Linked DNA regions of Homo sapiens: region 2 is linked to region 1. Evidence: promoter capture Hi-C in 16 types of primary human blood cells and fetal thymus (Javierre and others, 2016). All regions are on one chromosome and are shown on one strand. The core of a region is centred on a gene start or on the middle of the fragment in contact, and the rest is flanking DNA. Distances in the headings are between cores, read along the strand shown. Region 1 holds the start of CRABP1 (cellular retinoic acid binding protein 1). Region 2 overlaps LOC105370913 (a long non-coding RNA gene).

What was found. Contacts are between HindIII fragments. The CHiCAGO score rates a contact against its expected background, and 5 or more counts as called.
Region 2: a fragment that was not itself captured here is called in contact with the fragment with the promoter of CRABP1 in region 1 in 1 of 17 cell types (erythroblasts); the score reaches 6.6 in erythroblasts.

Annotation. Positions count from the first base shown.
Region 1 is chr15:78,336,843-78,344,211 of GRCh38, forward strand. CRABP1 (cellular retinoic acid binding protein 1) reads left to right here and starts at 3,511. Exons shown (of 4, transcript NM_004378.3): 1 at 3,511-3,656; 2 at 4,201-4,379; 3 at 6,657-6,770. The coding sequence starts at 3,587. RefSeq lists an enhancer at 3,061-3,689. The HindIII fragment of the contact is 12,559 bases long and covers 1-7,369 here.
Region 2 is chr15:78,686,888-78,694,256 of GRCh38, forward strand. LOC105370913 (a long non-coding RNA gene) reads right to left here. Exons shown (of 3, transcript XR_932509.2): 3 at 5,689-6,007. Among named protein-coding and RNA genes, the nearest start is that of CHRNB4, 49 kb to the left of the region's middle. The HindIII fragment of the contact is 1,109 bases long and covers 4,121-5,229 here.

The DNA of each region.
Region 1 (7,369 bases), core at 2,261-4,760:
GGTCAGCAAAGGTTAGCGAATGGAAGGGTAAAAGAAGAGAAGGAGAGAAGACAGGGAGGTCAGAGCATTTCAGGTGGTTCTGCCCATCTGTTTGAAGACCCGGGCCAAGAGCCGGGTCTCTGCCCAGCAGGGGGCCTGCTCTGGATCCACAGAAACACCACGATGGTGGTGGCTTTCTTTGTTTGTTTATTTGTTGGTTTGTTTGTTTCTTTTTGAGACGGAATCTCACTCTGTTGCCCAGGCTGGAGTGCAGTGGTGCGATCTCTGCTCACTACAACCTGGGACTCCTGGGTTCAAGTGATCCTCCTCACTCAGCTTCCTGAGTAGCTGGGACTACAGGGGCGCACCACCATGTTCGACTAATTTTGTATTTTTAGTAGAGATGGGTTTTCACCATGTTGGCCAGGCTGATCTCGAACTCCTGACCTCAGGTGATTCGCCTGCCTCAGCCTCCCTAAGTGCTGGGATTACAGGTGTGAGCCACCGTGCCCAGCCATGGTGGTGGTGTTTTTGTGGCCCTCTTGACTCTGGGGTTTCCCCAGTAGCCAGGAAGGTGATAGCAGCCTGCCCTCCCATTTCCATGTGCCACCTGATGAGATTTGGGTCTTCTGAGAAGTCCTGGCCCCTCCTGTCTGCTCTGGTCACCTCTAAACTTCCATTAACAAGGACAGCAGGCTGGGTGCTCATGCCTGTAATCCTAGCACTTTGGGAGGCTGAGGTGGACAAACTGGTTGAGCTCAGGAGTTCGAGACCATCCTGGGCAACATGGCAAACCCCTGTCTCTACTAAAAATACAAAAATTAGCCAGGCACGGTGGTGCATGCCTGTAATCCCAGCTACTTGGGAGGCTGAGGCAGGAGGATTGCTTGAGCCCGGGAGGCAAGGTTACAGTGACCCAAGATGGCACCAGGGCACTCCAGCACTGGCGACAGAGCCAGACCCTGTCTTAAAAACAAGGAGAGTGGGCTCACAAGGACTCTGGGATCATCTTCCACTCTATGGCTGAACTGGCTGTGCCCTCCTCACTCCTGGACCCTGCTCCCGCCCTTGTTTTGTGCCTGCAGAACGACACCACTGTCCTGTCCCAGTATGGCCAACTTTTGGAGTGGACACCTTCATCTGGCCCCTCTTGCCCCATTCTCTCTCTGACTCCCTCCCTCACCTTCTTCTTTCCCTCTTCCCTCTTTGTCCATCCAATGCCTTTGCTGCAAGAGCTCTCTGTCACCTTTGTGCCTCATCCACGGCCCTCTGACTATCCTCACAAGGTCTCTCTGGGCTGTAAACTAGGATGCTGCTCCAACATTGCTGCCCTCCTCCAGCCTCCTGCCCCAGTCCCTCCCCAGCCCTGCCCTTTAGATGGCTGAAGCCTTCTTAGGGAAGAGTGTTGGATGGGGGCAGAGGCCTGCATTAGCTGGATGGCACTCCTGTTTTGCCCCTTCACTGGAGAGGCACTCAACCCTCTGTGAAGTGGGTTTGATTCTATGGCAGCTCCATCCCTTGCCTCCCACATCCAGGACCTGCTACTTAATTTGCAGATCCCAGTGCAAAATAAAAATTCAGGACTCCTTGTTCAAAAAGTATTATGGGGCCAGGCACGGTGGCTCATGCCTGTAATCCCAGCACTTTGGGAGGCCGAGGAGGGCGGATCACGAGGTCAGGAGATCGAGACTATCCTGGCTAACACAGTGAAACCCTGTCTCTACTAAAAATACAAAAAATTAGCTGGGCATAGTAGCACACACCTGTAGTCCCAGCTACTTGGGAGGCTGAGCCAGGAGAATCATTTAAACCCAGGAGGCAGAGGTTGCAGTGAGCCAAGATTGCGCCACTGCACTCCAGCTCGGGCAACAGAGCGAGACTCTGTCTCAAAACAAACAAACAAACAAAAAGTATTCTGACGTTCAAGCTGGCAATAGCAGAGCATTCCTGCTTTTCCATTTTCCAATCTAACTATCAGGCCCTTCTAAGTGCATGGCCCTGTGTGACTGCACAGACGGCACGTCCAGAATGCCGGCCCTGCCCATGCCCCTTTCCAGCTGGTGATGGCCCCACTCCCCTCTCCTGTCCTCAGCTGCTTTCTTAGACAGATCCTCGGAGCCTCCTGGCAGCAACCCAGCCCCAGCCACCTCCAGAAGTTTCCAGGGCCCTGTTCAGTAGGCACTCAGCACAGATTCCCCAAGGTCCTGGGGGAATCTTCACCCCAGGCCACCACTCACATCCTCCTCAAATCAATGCACAGTTATCGAGCCCCACCTGGCTAAGCCTTAGGAAGGGAGGACAAGTGGATAAACGATCACTGCCCTCCAGGAGTTCAGTTTATAGCAGAGCGAAGACTTGAACAAGAGCAGGACCGGACAAGAATCCTGTCAATTCAGAGAAAAATAATCACAGTTTATTAGGAAACTGAATTTCACAAAAGAGAGAGCATAAAGATGGGCTTTCGTGAATGGGCAAGATTTGATTAACCCGATGAGGAAAGGGGCATTCAAGGAAGAAGCCATGGCATGGGCAAAAACTTAGAGATAATAAAATGCATGGCACGTTCTAGAATCCTGAATTGTACAGTTTGGCTGAGGTGTGCAGATGGTAAAATAGTGGGAAAAAGCTGGAAGGAAAATGTACAGAGAAGAGCTACAAGGGTAATAGTGAAGTGTTTGTACTCCCTTAGTGGAAACACCGAGGGGACTTTAGGTCGTGATGTTTAGGTTATTTGGGAGCAAAGGGAGAAGACTTCCTCCCCTTGGCCCTCACAGCCTGCCCGAAGAGTGCAAAGCCTCACGCTTTTGCAAAACAGGCCGCACCTAGCCCAGATTCTGGAGCTGATTCAGTCCATGCCTCTCGACCCACAGTTTGTCCTGAGCCCTGACAAAGGTCTGGCCCCCTCCTGCACTCGGAACGCGGAGGACCCGCAGCTCGTGGATTCGCGCCTCAGTGCCCAAGCTGGTGTTGATGGGGGTTGCGGTTTCCTGCCACTCACTCCCCATGGGTCCTGTGGGGGGCGTGGGGATGCGGGGAGAGGGTTTCAGAATAGGATCCCGGACTGGGAGGGAAGGGACACCATCTGGGCACACCCAGTAGGTACGACCGGAGGTGAAAAAAGAGTGGGTCCCATCCCCTGATGGCCCCGCTCGCTATCCACTTTAAGTTTATGTTATGGATATTTTCAAACATATTCAAAAGTAGAGAGAAAAGTAGAATCATAACCCAAGTCCACACCGCCCAGCTTCAACAGTTATCCCCTCCAAGCCCATCTTGTTTCAGCTAACCCTCTCCCACCACCCATTTTAAAGCGGGATGTGGGTGTCCTGAGGGAGGTGGAGGCTCCCCAGTTGGAGAGCGGGTGCCCGCACCTCTGGAGGCTGAGGCACAACTGGGCTGGGAGTTGAGCGCATACCGAGTAGGGGCTGCGGGGGAGCGGGGGCAGGGCCGGCGGGGCGGGGCCAGAAGCCCGGCGGGGTTGGGGGCGCTCTCCTAGTGACTCAAGGCGCGCAGCGCTGGGCGCAAAGCGCCAGTCTCCGCCTTGCGAGCTCAGAGTGTGCCCGCTGCGCCGCCGCTGTCCGTACCTGCCGCCGCCGCCACCGCCACCATGCCCAACTTCGCCGGCACCTGGAAGATGCGCAGCAGCGAGAATTTCGACGAGCTGCTCAAGGCACTGGGTAAGCTGGTGCAGAGGGCGCGCCCCGACGGGGAGATGCGGCCCGGAGGTGCCCTGGTCCCGGAAGTGCCCCGGTCCTGGAGGGGGTGGAAGTTGGGGAGCCCAGGCAGGAGGGAGTCCCCGGGGCAATAGATCGCCTTGTCTCCCAGGCGCACCGGGTCTCGGAGAAGCTGGTAGAGATCCCGGAACCCACGCGTTCAGCGAACGTTTGCTGAATGTTTGGCGCCCTCCTCGATGGTGCGGACTTTATCTCGTGCTAGATCATAGCGAGGAGAGATTACTGGAGAGCAAGGAGGATCAGGGACTTAAATTTGGAGACTCAAATTTGGGACCAGGCTCTGCCACGAATTCACTGTGCAACTCGAGGAAAGTCACTTACCCTCTCTGTGCCTCAGTCTCTCATCTCGAAAACAAGGGCGAGGGCAGGGAAACGAGTGGATCAATTTTAAGGCCCCTTTCTAAAGTTAGGGTATGACCAGTGCCCGACCGGTCCCGAGACTGGCGGCGAGGCCCCGTGACCCAAGCCTGTGGTGCACCCTGCGCAGGTGTGAACGCCATGCTGAGGAAAGTGGCCGTAGCGGCTGCGTCCAAGCCGCACGTGGAGATCCGCCAGGACGGGGATCAGTTCTACATCAAGACATCCACCACGGTGCGCACCACTGAGATCAACTTCAAGGTCGGAGAAGGCTTTGAGGAGGAGACCGTGGACGGACGCAAGTGCAGGGTGAGGCCCCAGAGCCACTACAGCGTCCCCGTGTCCCCGCTCGGTGCCCATGGCCCACTGCTGCTGGAGGAACCTGTGTCTCCCTTTGCAGCCTGTGGCGCGCCTTCCTTGCAGGGTGTGTACACTGGCTGTTTGCAGAGGGGGTTTGTGCATCCTAGTTGCCCCTGGCTCAAGACAAAGTATTACCTTCATTCCATCTCAACCCCATCCCTACGCTGCCTCCCGGGGTGCTAACAGCCGCGCTTAAAGAGCGGGCTCTGGGTTGCGCCGCGTTCCCAGCAGTGGCTTTTGCAGCGGTTTGCAGCGCCAAGCGCAGGCGGCGCAGGAGGAGGAGGAGGTTGCAGGAGCCGCCAGGTTCTCTGTCGCAGGTGAAGCCGCAGCTCTTGCATTCCTTTCCCGCCGTATCCCCCGCGCCCGCCCGGGTCCCTGGGCCGCCTGGGTACGCTCTGGATACAGTTTTAGCAGTCCCGATGGCCCCGTCACCTCTCCCTTCCCGCCTTCGGCCTGGTTCCTTAAAGGAACGGCGGAGTCTTTCCAAAAGCAAGGCAGGTTCTGGCTGGGAAAATGGACTAGTTGCCCTCTCTTAGTCCTCAAGGGCAAGAGTTTTTTTTTATTTCTCCATGCATCGGCCCAGGGATGAACCGGTGGATTGAAGCAAGGGGTTGTACATTCGTTTTTTGCATGGGCAAAAATTGCATTTGGTTAACCAGATGGAAAAATAATCACCGGTGCTACCACTTATTTAAAAAGTGACAGAATGTCTCCCTCCCCTTCTCCAATTTTTTTTTTTTAAAGAAAAAAGTCGTAACATTCCAGAGAGTGGGAAATTGTTTCTTTCACCTTTCCTGAGCAGTGCCTGGTCTGATCTCGGAATGGGACTCTCTGAGCACCGGGCTTGGAAGGACAAAGAAACAAAGCCCCCCAGAAGCAGGCTGATCTAGGAGGCAATCTTTGGCTCCAGAATTGTCATAGCCTGGAAATGATCTCCACGCTTGGAGGGGGTGGGATCTGAAGCCTAAACTGCACTGCAGAAACAAAGAGCAGGACAGCATAGAGTGAAGGGCTGGGAGTCTAAGAGAGGAGGCTTGGCAATAGGCAGGGCTCAGTCTGGGGACATCCAATGTTGGCTACTGCCAGGAAGGGTAATTCTGATTTAAAAAAAAAAAATTAAAGGTTCACACAACAGCCGGGAGAGTGGGGCTTTATGCACCCCCCATCCCCCCACACCTTGCCTAATGAATGTGTCCCATGTGTTAGTTAAAAACTGATTATGTGCACATTCAGCTCTGGCCCACCCCCCAGCCCAGCTGTACCACACTTAGCTTTGTGCAGACACTGGGGAAAAACTTCAGGAAATCCCTCCTTTTGCCTCCCACCTCCAAAAGCATGAAGAGCCTTCAGATTGATTTGCTTTTTAAATTTTTTCTAAAGGGATGTAACCGGGAAAGTGGCAGCATTTTAACCCTCAGAGCCAAAGACACCGAGGTTTATCAGTGCAGGGGTGCACTAAATCTGATGAGGAGTGAACAGAAAGGACGTTCCTATCCCAAAATCCATGCAGGGAATCGTGCTCCTGATAGGCTGATGACAGATGTGGTTACAAACTTGGTGTCTTAACTGTTGTCAAATCTTGTGGTTCTGATGTGAAGGTTCTTGCTTTTAAAATCCAAATTATGTTCACCTGAGGTCAGGAGTTCGAGACCAGCCTGGTGAAACCCCATCTGTACTAAATATACCAAAAAAATTAGCTGGGCGTGGTGGCAGGCACCTGTCATCCCAGCTACTCAGGAGGCTGAGACAGGAGAATTGCTTGAACCTGGGAGGTGGAGGTTGTAAGGAGCCAAGATTGTGCCACTGCACTCCAGCCTGGGCAACAGAGCGAGACTCCATCTCAAAAAAAAAATGAATAAAAATAAATAAAATCCAAATTGTTTGAAGGGTTAGCTAATTTTTATATAAATGAATCATTTCATGCTCTAAATTTTATTCCTAGAGATGTAAAGCATGCCTAAGGCCTCGCTGCTTCAGTAAGAGATTGTTTGTGTGTGCTTGTGAGTGTGTGTGTGTGTTATACAAGGTGTATTTATACCCCATAAAATCTGTGACCAGCACTCTGAATTTGGACTTTATAAGGCTCAGCGGAGAAGAATCTGTGGCCTGCTGACAGGGACCATGTGTTGATTCTCTGCAGAGCAATTATTTTTCAATGCTCATTGTTGTCCCTGCTCCCGCTGCTGAGACTCTAATTAATGTCACTAATGGTTTTCCCGCCTGCAGAGTTTAGCCACTTGGGAGAATGAGAACAAGATCCACTGCACGCAAACTCTTCTTGAAGGGGACGGCCCCAAAACCTACTGGACCCGTGAGCTGGCCAACGATGAACTTATCCTGGTAGGGAACCCTTGACCCTGAAATAATCCTGAAGTTCCCCCAGAGGGGGCCCCAGATGGGCCCCACAAATATGTCCTCCTCACTCGGCCGTTCAGAGAAAGACACCATTTGCCCTGGATTAAAATTAGAGCAGAAAACCCGAGATGACAGTTCAGGTCAGAGGAAATCATTGTTAAATGGTTGGCAGGAAAGAGGAGTGGCTCAGAGGATGGAATAGGGGCTGGAGACAGGCTGGAGTGCCTGCCACTATCCACACTAATACATCCCAGTGGCGGTGACATGCTTTAAGCCAAGCTCCCCTCTCATCAGGCTTGGAATGCTTAGGCTCTATGAGGTCCCCACGCTCACATGGCAGAAGGGATTTTTTTTCATTCTCATTCCCCCTTTTGCTGGCTGGAAAAGGTTTCAGTAATTTTTATCACATCAGCACTCAGAACCTTAGAGAACATTTTTAGCTGTGATTTGCAAACTCCAATGGCCTTTGGGAGCCAGGCAATGAATGCTAATTTGGGAAGTGTCTGAGTATAACACAGTGTGGAGAGATGAGCCCCTGTAGAACTAAAAAAGATAGGCTTTTCCTTAAAAGTATTCAGATCCCA
Region 2 (7,369 bases), core at 3,425-5,924, 350 kb after region 1:
CCTCAACAACCACATCAACAAAAACAAACATTTATTGGCTTACTTTTTATACATAAAGCATTTAGCAAAGAATTTGACACATTGCCCCATTTATTCCCACAACAGCCCTATGAGGTAGTTATATTATTGTCCCTATCTTACAAATGTGGGAACTGAGAGCAGAGATTGATTAACTGTAGCCTGTGGGCCAAATCCAGCCACTGCCCGTTGTTACTGGAACATAGCCTTGTTCATTCATTCATGTGTTGTCTATGGCTGCTGCCATTTACATTGAGTAGTTGCTTGCAGCAGAAACCATATATGGCCTGCATAGCCTAAAATATTCAGTGTCTAACCCTTTATAGGAAGAGTTTACTGACTTCTACTCTAGAAGGTTAATTTATAAGGTGACAAAACTAGTTATGGTGGAGGCATGAGTCCAACTCCGTTCAGTTTGATTCCAAAGCTCAGGCTCTTGGTTGTCACATACTCCCACTGGAGGCGGTGGATTTTCATTAAGTGGTCGTTAGACACTGAAATCGTAAAACATTTATTTTAAAATAGATTATGTTATATATTTGGTTTTTATTGTGGTAAAATGTCTGTAATGTAAAACATACCATTTAACCATTTTTAAGTGTACAGTTCACTGCCATTAAGTGCATTCACAATGCTGTACAACCATCACCATTATCCATTTCCAGAACTTTTTCATCATTCCAGACAGAAACGCTGTAGCCATTCCACAGTAACTCCCCATTCCCTCTCCCCCAGCCCCTAATAATCACTATTCTACTTTTGTCTCTGTGAATTTGCCTATTTTAGGTACCTAATGTAAGTGGACTCATAAAGATTTGTCTTTTTGTCTCTTATTCCATTTAGCATGTTTTCCAGGTTCATCTATGTTGTAAGATGTATCAGAATTTTATTCCTTTTTAAGGCAGAATAATGTCCCATTGTGTGTAGTGTCAGATGTTCCTCCATTTACTGTGGAGTTACTTCCCAATAAACCCACTGTAAAAGAAAAATATTGTAAGTCACAAATGCAATTAATACACCCAACTTACTGAACCTCATAGCTTAGCCCAGCCCACATTAAACATGGTCAGAACACTTACATTAGCCTACAGCTGGGCAATATCATCTAACACGAAGCCTATATTATAATCAGATGTTGACTATCTCATGTAATTTATTGAATACTGAAAGTGAAAATCAGAATGGTTATATGTGTACTTGAAGTACAGTTCCTGTTGAATGTGTATCACTTTTGCACCATTGTAAAGTCAAAAAATATTAATTCAAACCATTGTGGGGCAGGGCATGTTGGCTCACGCCTGTAATCCCAGCACTTTGGGAAGCCAAGGCAGGTGAGTCACCTGAGGTCAGGAGTTCAAGACCAGCCTGACCAATGTGGTGAAACCCCGTCTCTACTAAATACAAAAAATTAGCCATGGGTGGTGGTACATGCCTATAATCCCAGCTACTTGGGAGGCTGAGGCAGGAGAATCACTTGAACCTGAGAGGCAGAGATTGCATTGAGCCAAGATTGTGCCATTTACTCCAGCCTGAGCAACAAGAGCAAAACTTCATCTCAAAAAAAAAAAAAAAAAATACAACATCATAAGCTGGGGACCATCTGTGTTTGTTTTTGAATAGATAGTACATGCATAGAGTACAAAATTCAAAAGATGCAAAGGACCTAGAGTGAAGAGTGAATCTCTCTCCTATCCCTTCCCCCTCCAGGCCCCAGCTCCCCTCCCAAGAGACAACCAGTGTTACTGCATTCTTGTGTATCTTTTCTGAGAGGGTCTAAGCATGCTCAGCATCTAGGTTTCAATAGTATTTTTAAATATATTTTCACACAAGTATTACTACACCTGGCATATTGTTCCTGCATCTTTCTGATAACCTTTTTCTTTCTTGAGACAGGGTTTTGCTCTGTCACCAAGGCTGCAGTGTAGTGACACAATCATAGCTCACTGCAGCCTCGACCTCACCTACTCAAGCAATCCTCCCACCTCAGCCTCCCAAGTAGCTGAGAACACAAGTGTGTGCCATCACACCCGACTAATTTTTTTGCTTTTGTAGAGATGTGGTCTCACTATGTTGCCCAGGCTGGTCTCAAACTCCTGAGCTCAAGCCATCCTTCTGCCTGAGCTTCCCAAAGTGCTGGGATTGCAGGTGTGAGCCACTGTGCCTGGTGGCTCACACATTAAGTATTCTTAATAATATGTCTTGCAGATTGTTTTGTATCATTATATCTAGAGCTATCTCACTCAACAACTGCATATAATCCCACTGCATGAATGTATCATGATTTATTTATCTGGTCATTATAAGTAGACATTTAGGTTGTTTTTAATCTTTTTCAGTTATGAACAGCTCTATAGTGAATGTTCTTTTCATTTTTTGTTGTTTTTGAGATGGAGTTTCACTCTGTCGCCCAGGCTGGGGTGCAGTGGCATGATCTCAGCTTGCTGCAACTTTTGCCTCCTGGGTTCAAGCGATTCTCCTGCCTCAGCCTCCTGAGTTGCTGGGACTACAGGTGCGTGCCACCACTCCCAGCTAATTTTTTATTTTTAGTAGAGACGGGGTTTCACCATGTTGGCCAGGCTGGTCTCGAACTCCTGACCTCAGGTCATCTGCCCACCTTAGCCTCCCAAAGTGCTGGGATTACAGGTGTGAGCCACTGCGCCTGGCCTCTTGTCATGTTTTTAAGATTAGTTCTTAAAGCCAGTGTAGTAGAAGATGAAGCATGTTTCTCACCCTCTCCATGTTGGACTGCATTTTTCAGGGAAATTGTGCTATCTGGAGAACCATATTTGGCTCAGAGGATCAGGAGTGCTTGGATCCTACCCTGGTCTAACTCCTCCCTTCCCCACATCTGGGCCAATGAGAGATGGAGGAAAAAAAGCAAGGAACAACTCATTCTTGGGCTGAAAGCCTAAGGATGTGGTCATTGGAGGACAAAAAGCAAGGAACAACTCATTCTTAGAGGGGCTGAAAGCCTAAGGCCATGCTCATTGGAGGACAACCCTTCCTCTAACCCAGAGTTTCTCTTTGACTTTTTTCTTTTCTTTTTTTTTTTTTGAGACTTAAGTCTTGCTTTGTCACCCAGGCTGGAGTGCAAGGGTGCAATCTCAGCTCACTGCAATCTCCGGCTCTCGGGTTCAAGTGATTCTTGTACCTCAGCCTCCTAGGTAGCTGGGACTATGGGCACCTGCCACCACACTTGGCTAATTTTTGTATTTTTGGTAGAGATGGGGTTTTACCATGTTGGCCAGGCTGGTCTCAAACTCTTGACCTCAGGTGATTTGCCTGCCTCAGCCTCCCAAAGTGCTGGGATTACAGGCATGAGCCACCGCACCTGGCCTCTCTGACATTTTGGACTAGATAGACCTTTTTTCTATCTAGTTCTTTACCTCAATGTAGAGGTCACAATGTCAGGCTAAGGCTTTCTAATAAAGCTTCTGGTTGTCATGTAGTGGGAGAGAGGAGAGCTGAAATCAGTATTGTGAGATATGGCTGAAATGTCTGCTGTAGCTCCAGGTGAGAGAGGCCCAAGACCTAGCATGGGAACAAAACCTCCCAAGATCTGGCAAGCCAAGCAAGTTTCTGCTTTCTTGATGTTCCTCTCTGATGCATAAAGATCACAGCTTTTGCCAGCCAAGGTGGCTCATGCCTGTAATCCCAGTACTTTGGGAGGCTGGGGCAGGAGGATTGCTTGAGCCCAGGAGTTTTGGACCAACCTGGGCAACATGGCTAGACCCCATCTCTACAGTAAAAAAATACAAAAATTAGCCAGGCATGATGGCGTGCACCTATAGTCCCAGCTACTCGGGAGGGTGAGGTGGGAGGATTGCTTGATCCTGGGAGGCAGAAGTTGCGGTGAGCTGAGATCACACCACTGCACTCCAGCCTGGGAGACAAAGTGAGACCCTGTCTCAACAAAACAAAAGAAAACACCTTTGAAAAGAGATGGGGTAAAAAAGATCACAGAACAAAGAGTTAAAAAAAAAAAACAGATTGTTCTTTAATTAAGAACAACTAGGGCTGGGCAGAATTGAAGCTGTTTCCCCTGCCAGATGATTGGACACCTTGCCTTTTAGGAGCAGGGTCTGGATGGGAGTGGGGGAAAAGCTTCCTTCAAAACCAACTTTCAGAGAGTTGGATGCTTTTTGGAGAGGACTGAATTTGGATTAGGCATTCATATTTATTTCTGCCCTTTGCAGTCATGTCATGCAAGCTAAATCGTTTCTTAAAACCAGTATTTCCACCCCTTCCAAAAGGAACTTTATCATGTAAACTGAGCGCCTGCAATCCAACCCTATAATGACTTGATTCGTCCTGGGAAAGCTCCTGCCTTTAATCCTTTTCTCCCTCATCTCCTGGTGCCAGGAAGGGCCCCCACAGGACCCTCCCAGGTCTGGAGGTGTTCCTCACTGTCACTCTCTCCTCCTCACATCACCTGCTGGCCCCGAGGCCTTCTCAGTGATGGGGAGGGTTTGGCTAGAGCCTTAGCGGGAGGAAGCCAGGAGATGCTTCCCTAGGTCAATCCCTGGGCAGGCCCCACTTCCTTCATTTCCTCATTCGTTCATCCAGTTAACACATGCTTAGTGCTTCTCATATGCCAAGCACTGTGCTCTGCACTTCACTCTGTGAGCTCTGATAATAGGGACTAGTATTAGTTTTCATTTATGGATGAGGAAATCAAGGCTCAGAGGGGTTAAGTCACTTGCCTGAGACCACATGGTTAATGAGTGGCTTTGCTGTACTGGGGACCTAGAGTCTGAATCCAGCCAAGCGACTTCCAATGCCAAGCTCACACCAGATCCACACTCGGAGCAGAGGAAGCCACATTGCAGCGGAAAACAAGGGCTTCCTGGAAGTGGTATGTGGCCTGAGGCCAGGAAAGACCAGGCTGGGAGAGGGCTACTGACTGCTTACTGTAATCAGCTTCAGATTTTCGGCATCAACAAGGCAGAACCCCAGTGAGACAGGCCAGGGTGACAGGAGGCTCTTTGGTGACCCTGGATGGGCTCTGCTCATGGGGATTTGATCCCACCATTAGTTTTTGAGCTCTTGCCACATGCCAGACACAGGCCCTGCCCCAGGAATCCCACATATTATCATGTGCCATGGCCTGGGTCTCGGCTATGGCTTCAGTGGCTCATGTTCCCCTCTTCCTGGACACCCATCTTGGACGATCCTACAGCCTCAGGCCAAGGCATCCCCAGAATCCCCCCAAGCTTCTGGGCCCCTGCCTGGCAAGACTGATGCTGATCAGAGTCCTGCCCCATCCCCCTGCTCCCAGTCCAGGCCAGGGATGGCTTCTATTTACCTGGGTCTTCCCCGAGCTCAGCTGAGCTCCAGCTCATAGTGAATCACATGTTGGGAATCAGCTGAGAGCTGGCCCTGAAGATCCCTGAATAATGCATCAAAGCCCTTCTCCCCTGCAGAGCCATTAGGGTGGGGGTGAGGGGGATAATGCAGAGGAGTCAGTGTGTTTCCCACCCCAGGAAGAATACTAGGGTTCCAAAGGCCTTTGCCCTGGTGTGCATGGGCTTGAGACTCAAAGGTCCACAGGACTGGGTGACCCAGTACATAGGTAAACCAAGGCGGGTTTCGGATGACTACAAAACCAGTACATCCTCCAAAAGAGGGCAAAGGAGGTTCAGCTTCCAAATATTCAGACTTTTGCCATTGGAAACTTTAAGAAAACAAAACAACATTTTATTTTTAGCATCCATATAAAAGTTGTATTGCATGGTTTATGGTTTTGTTTTTATTTTGAATTTTCTCCCCTGTGCAGAAGCACCAAAGCATCTTCAGTGCTAAGACCTGGAAAAGTCGAAGTCCCTCCTGGAGATCCAGTCACACCACAGGAGAGCAGAGCTGGGGGTGCCTGCTGAGTTCACTCCATCCACCCCACCCCACTCCCAGAACCGTACAGGCTGAGCAGTCCAGGCCAATTCAGGTACCCTCTTCTGGCTCTATGAAGAAAGTCTAGGAAGGGAGTGGAGAGCTGCAGAGAAGAAAGAGGGAGGGGATCAGAAGGAGGAGGAGGAGCAAGAGGAGGAAGGGGAGGGGGAGGGGGAACAGAGTGCCAGACTGACAGAAATTTTTGCACCTCCTGGCATCCTGTTCCCACCCTGGGCCTAACTGAGCCTTCCCAGGTGCTATGCACTGAATGTTTGTATCCTGCATGATGAAATTAATGCCCTTATAGGAAGAAACACGAGCAAGTAGGCCTTCTCTCTCTCTCTTTGCCGTGTGAGGATATAGCAAGGAGGTTCCATAGGAGAAACCAAGAAAAGAGTCCTCACCCAACCCAAACCATGCTGGCAGCCTGATCTCCAACTTCCCAGCCTCTAGAACTATGAAAAATAAATGACTGTCTAAGCCACCTAGTAATTTGTTATAGCAGCCTGAGCTGACTAAGGCACCAGATCACTATGTGACTTGGCTGCCTACTCTCTCTCTTTGCTGTCCAGACTCTGGGGACCCTGGTTCTCTGCCCTTTCTCTAGCTCTCCTTCTCTGTGTGCCATCCTTCTCGCAGTCTGCAGCCTCTGCTGATCCTTAGTCCACTGCTCTTGGGCATCTCTTCCACCTGTGACCACTCTCTCCTCATTCCCTCTGGGATGAGCTCACTCCCCTTTGGTACCAATTACTATCTATGGCTGTGGGTCTTGACCTTGGATAGACTCTCCAGGGACTCTGAGTGATTGGTCTGGGTGCAGCCTGGCCATAGGGCATTCTGAAAGCTCCCCAGGCCATTCTAATATAGACCACTGGACAGTAAAGGGTTAGTTTGCTCAGCAGCCTTGGGTCACTCCAACCCTGCACATTCCAAAAAGAGGATTGGCCCTTGACCACATCTGGGGAGATAACTTTAGAATATTCTGCCTTTTATTTATTTATTTATTTTTTTTTTTGAGGTGGATTCTCACTCCATTGCCCAGGCTGGAGTGCAGCGGCACGATCTGGGCTCACTGCAAACTCTGCCTCCTGGGTTCAAGCGATTCTCCTGTCTCAGGTTCCCGAGTAGCTGGGATTGCAGGCACCCACCACCAGGCCTGGCTAATTTTTTTCTATTTTTAGTAGAGACGGGGTTTCGCCATGTTGGCCAGGCTAGTCTCGAACTCCTGACCTCAGTTGATCCACCTGCCTCGGCCTCCCAAAGTGTTGGGATTACAGGCGTGAGCCACCATGCCCACACCTGGCTGAATATTCTGCCTTGTAAGAATGTTTTTGTATGCCTGAGACTTTGGGCCTTGGTGTATCAATACGACTTCTTTAAGGACTGAAGCCTGAGTAGCTGGGGTCAGTCACCCAGGAGCTGCATGCCTGCATGACTGACCCCCCAAGAAAAACCTTGAACACTA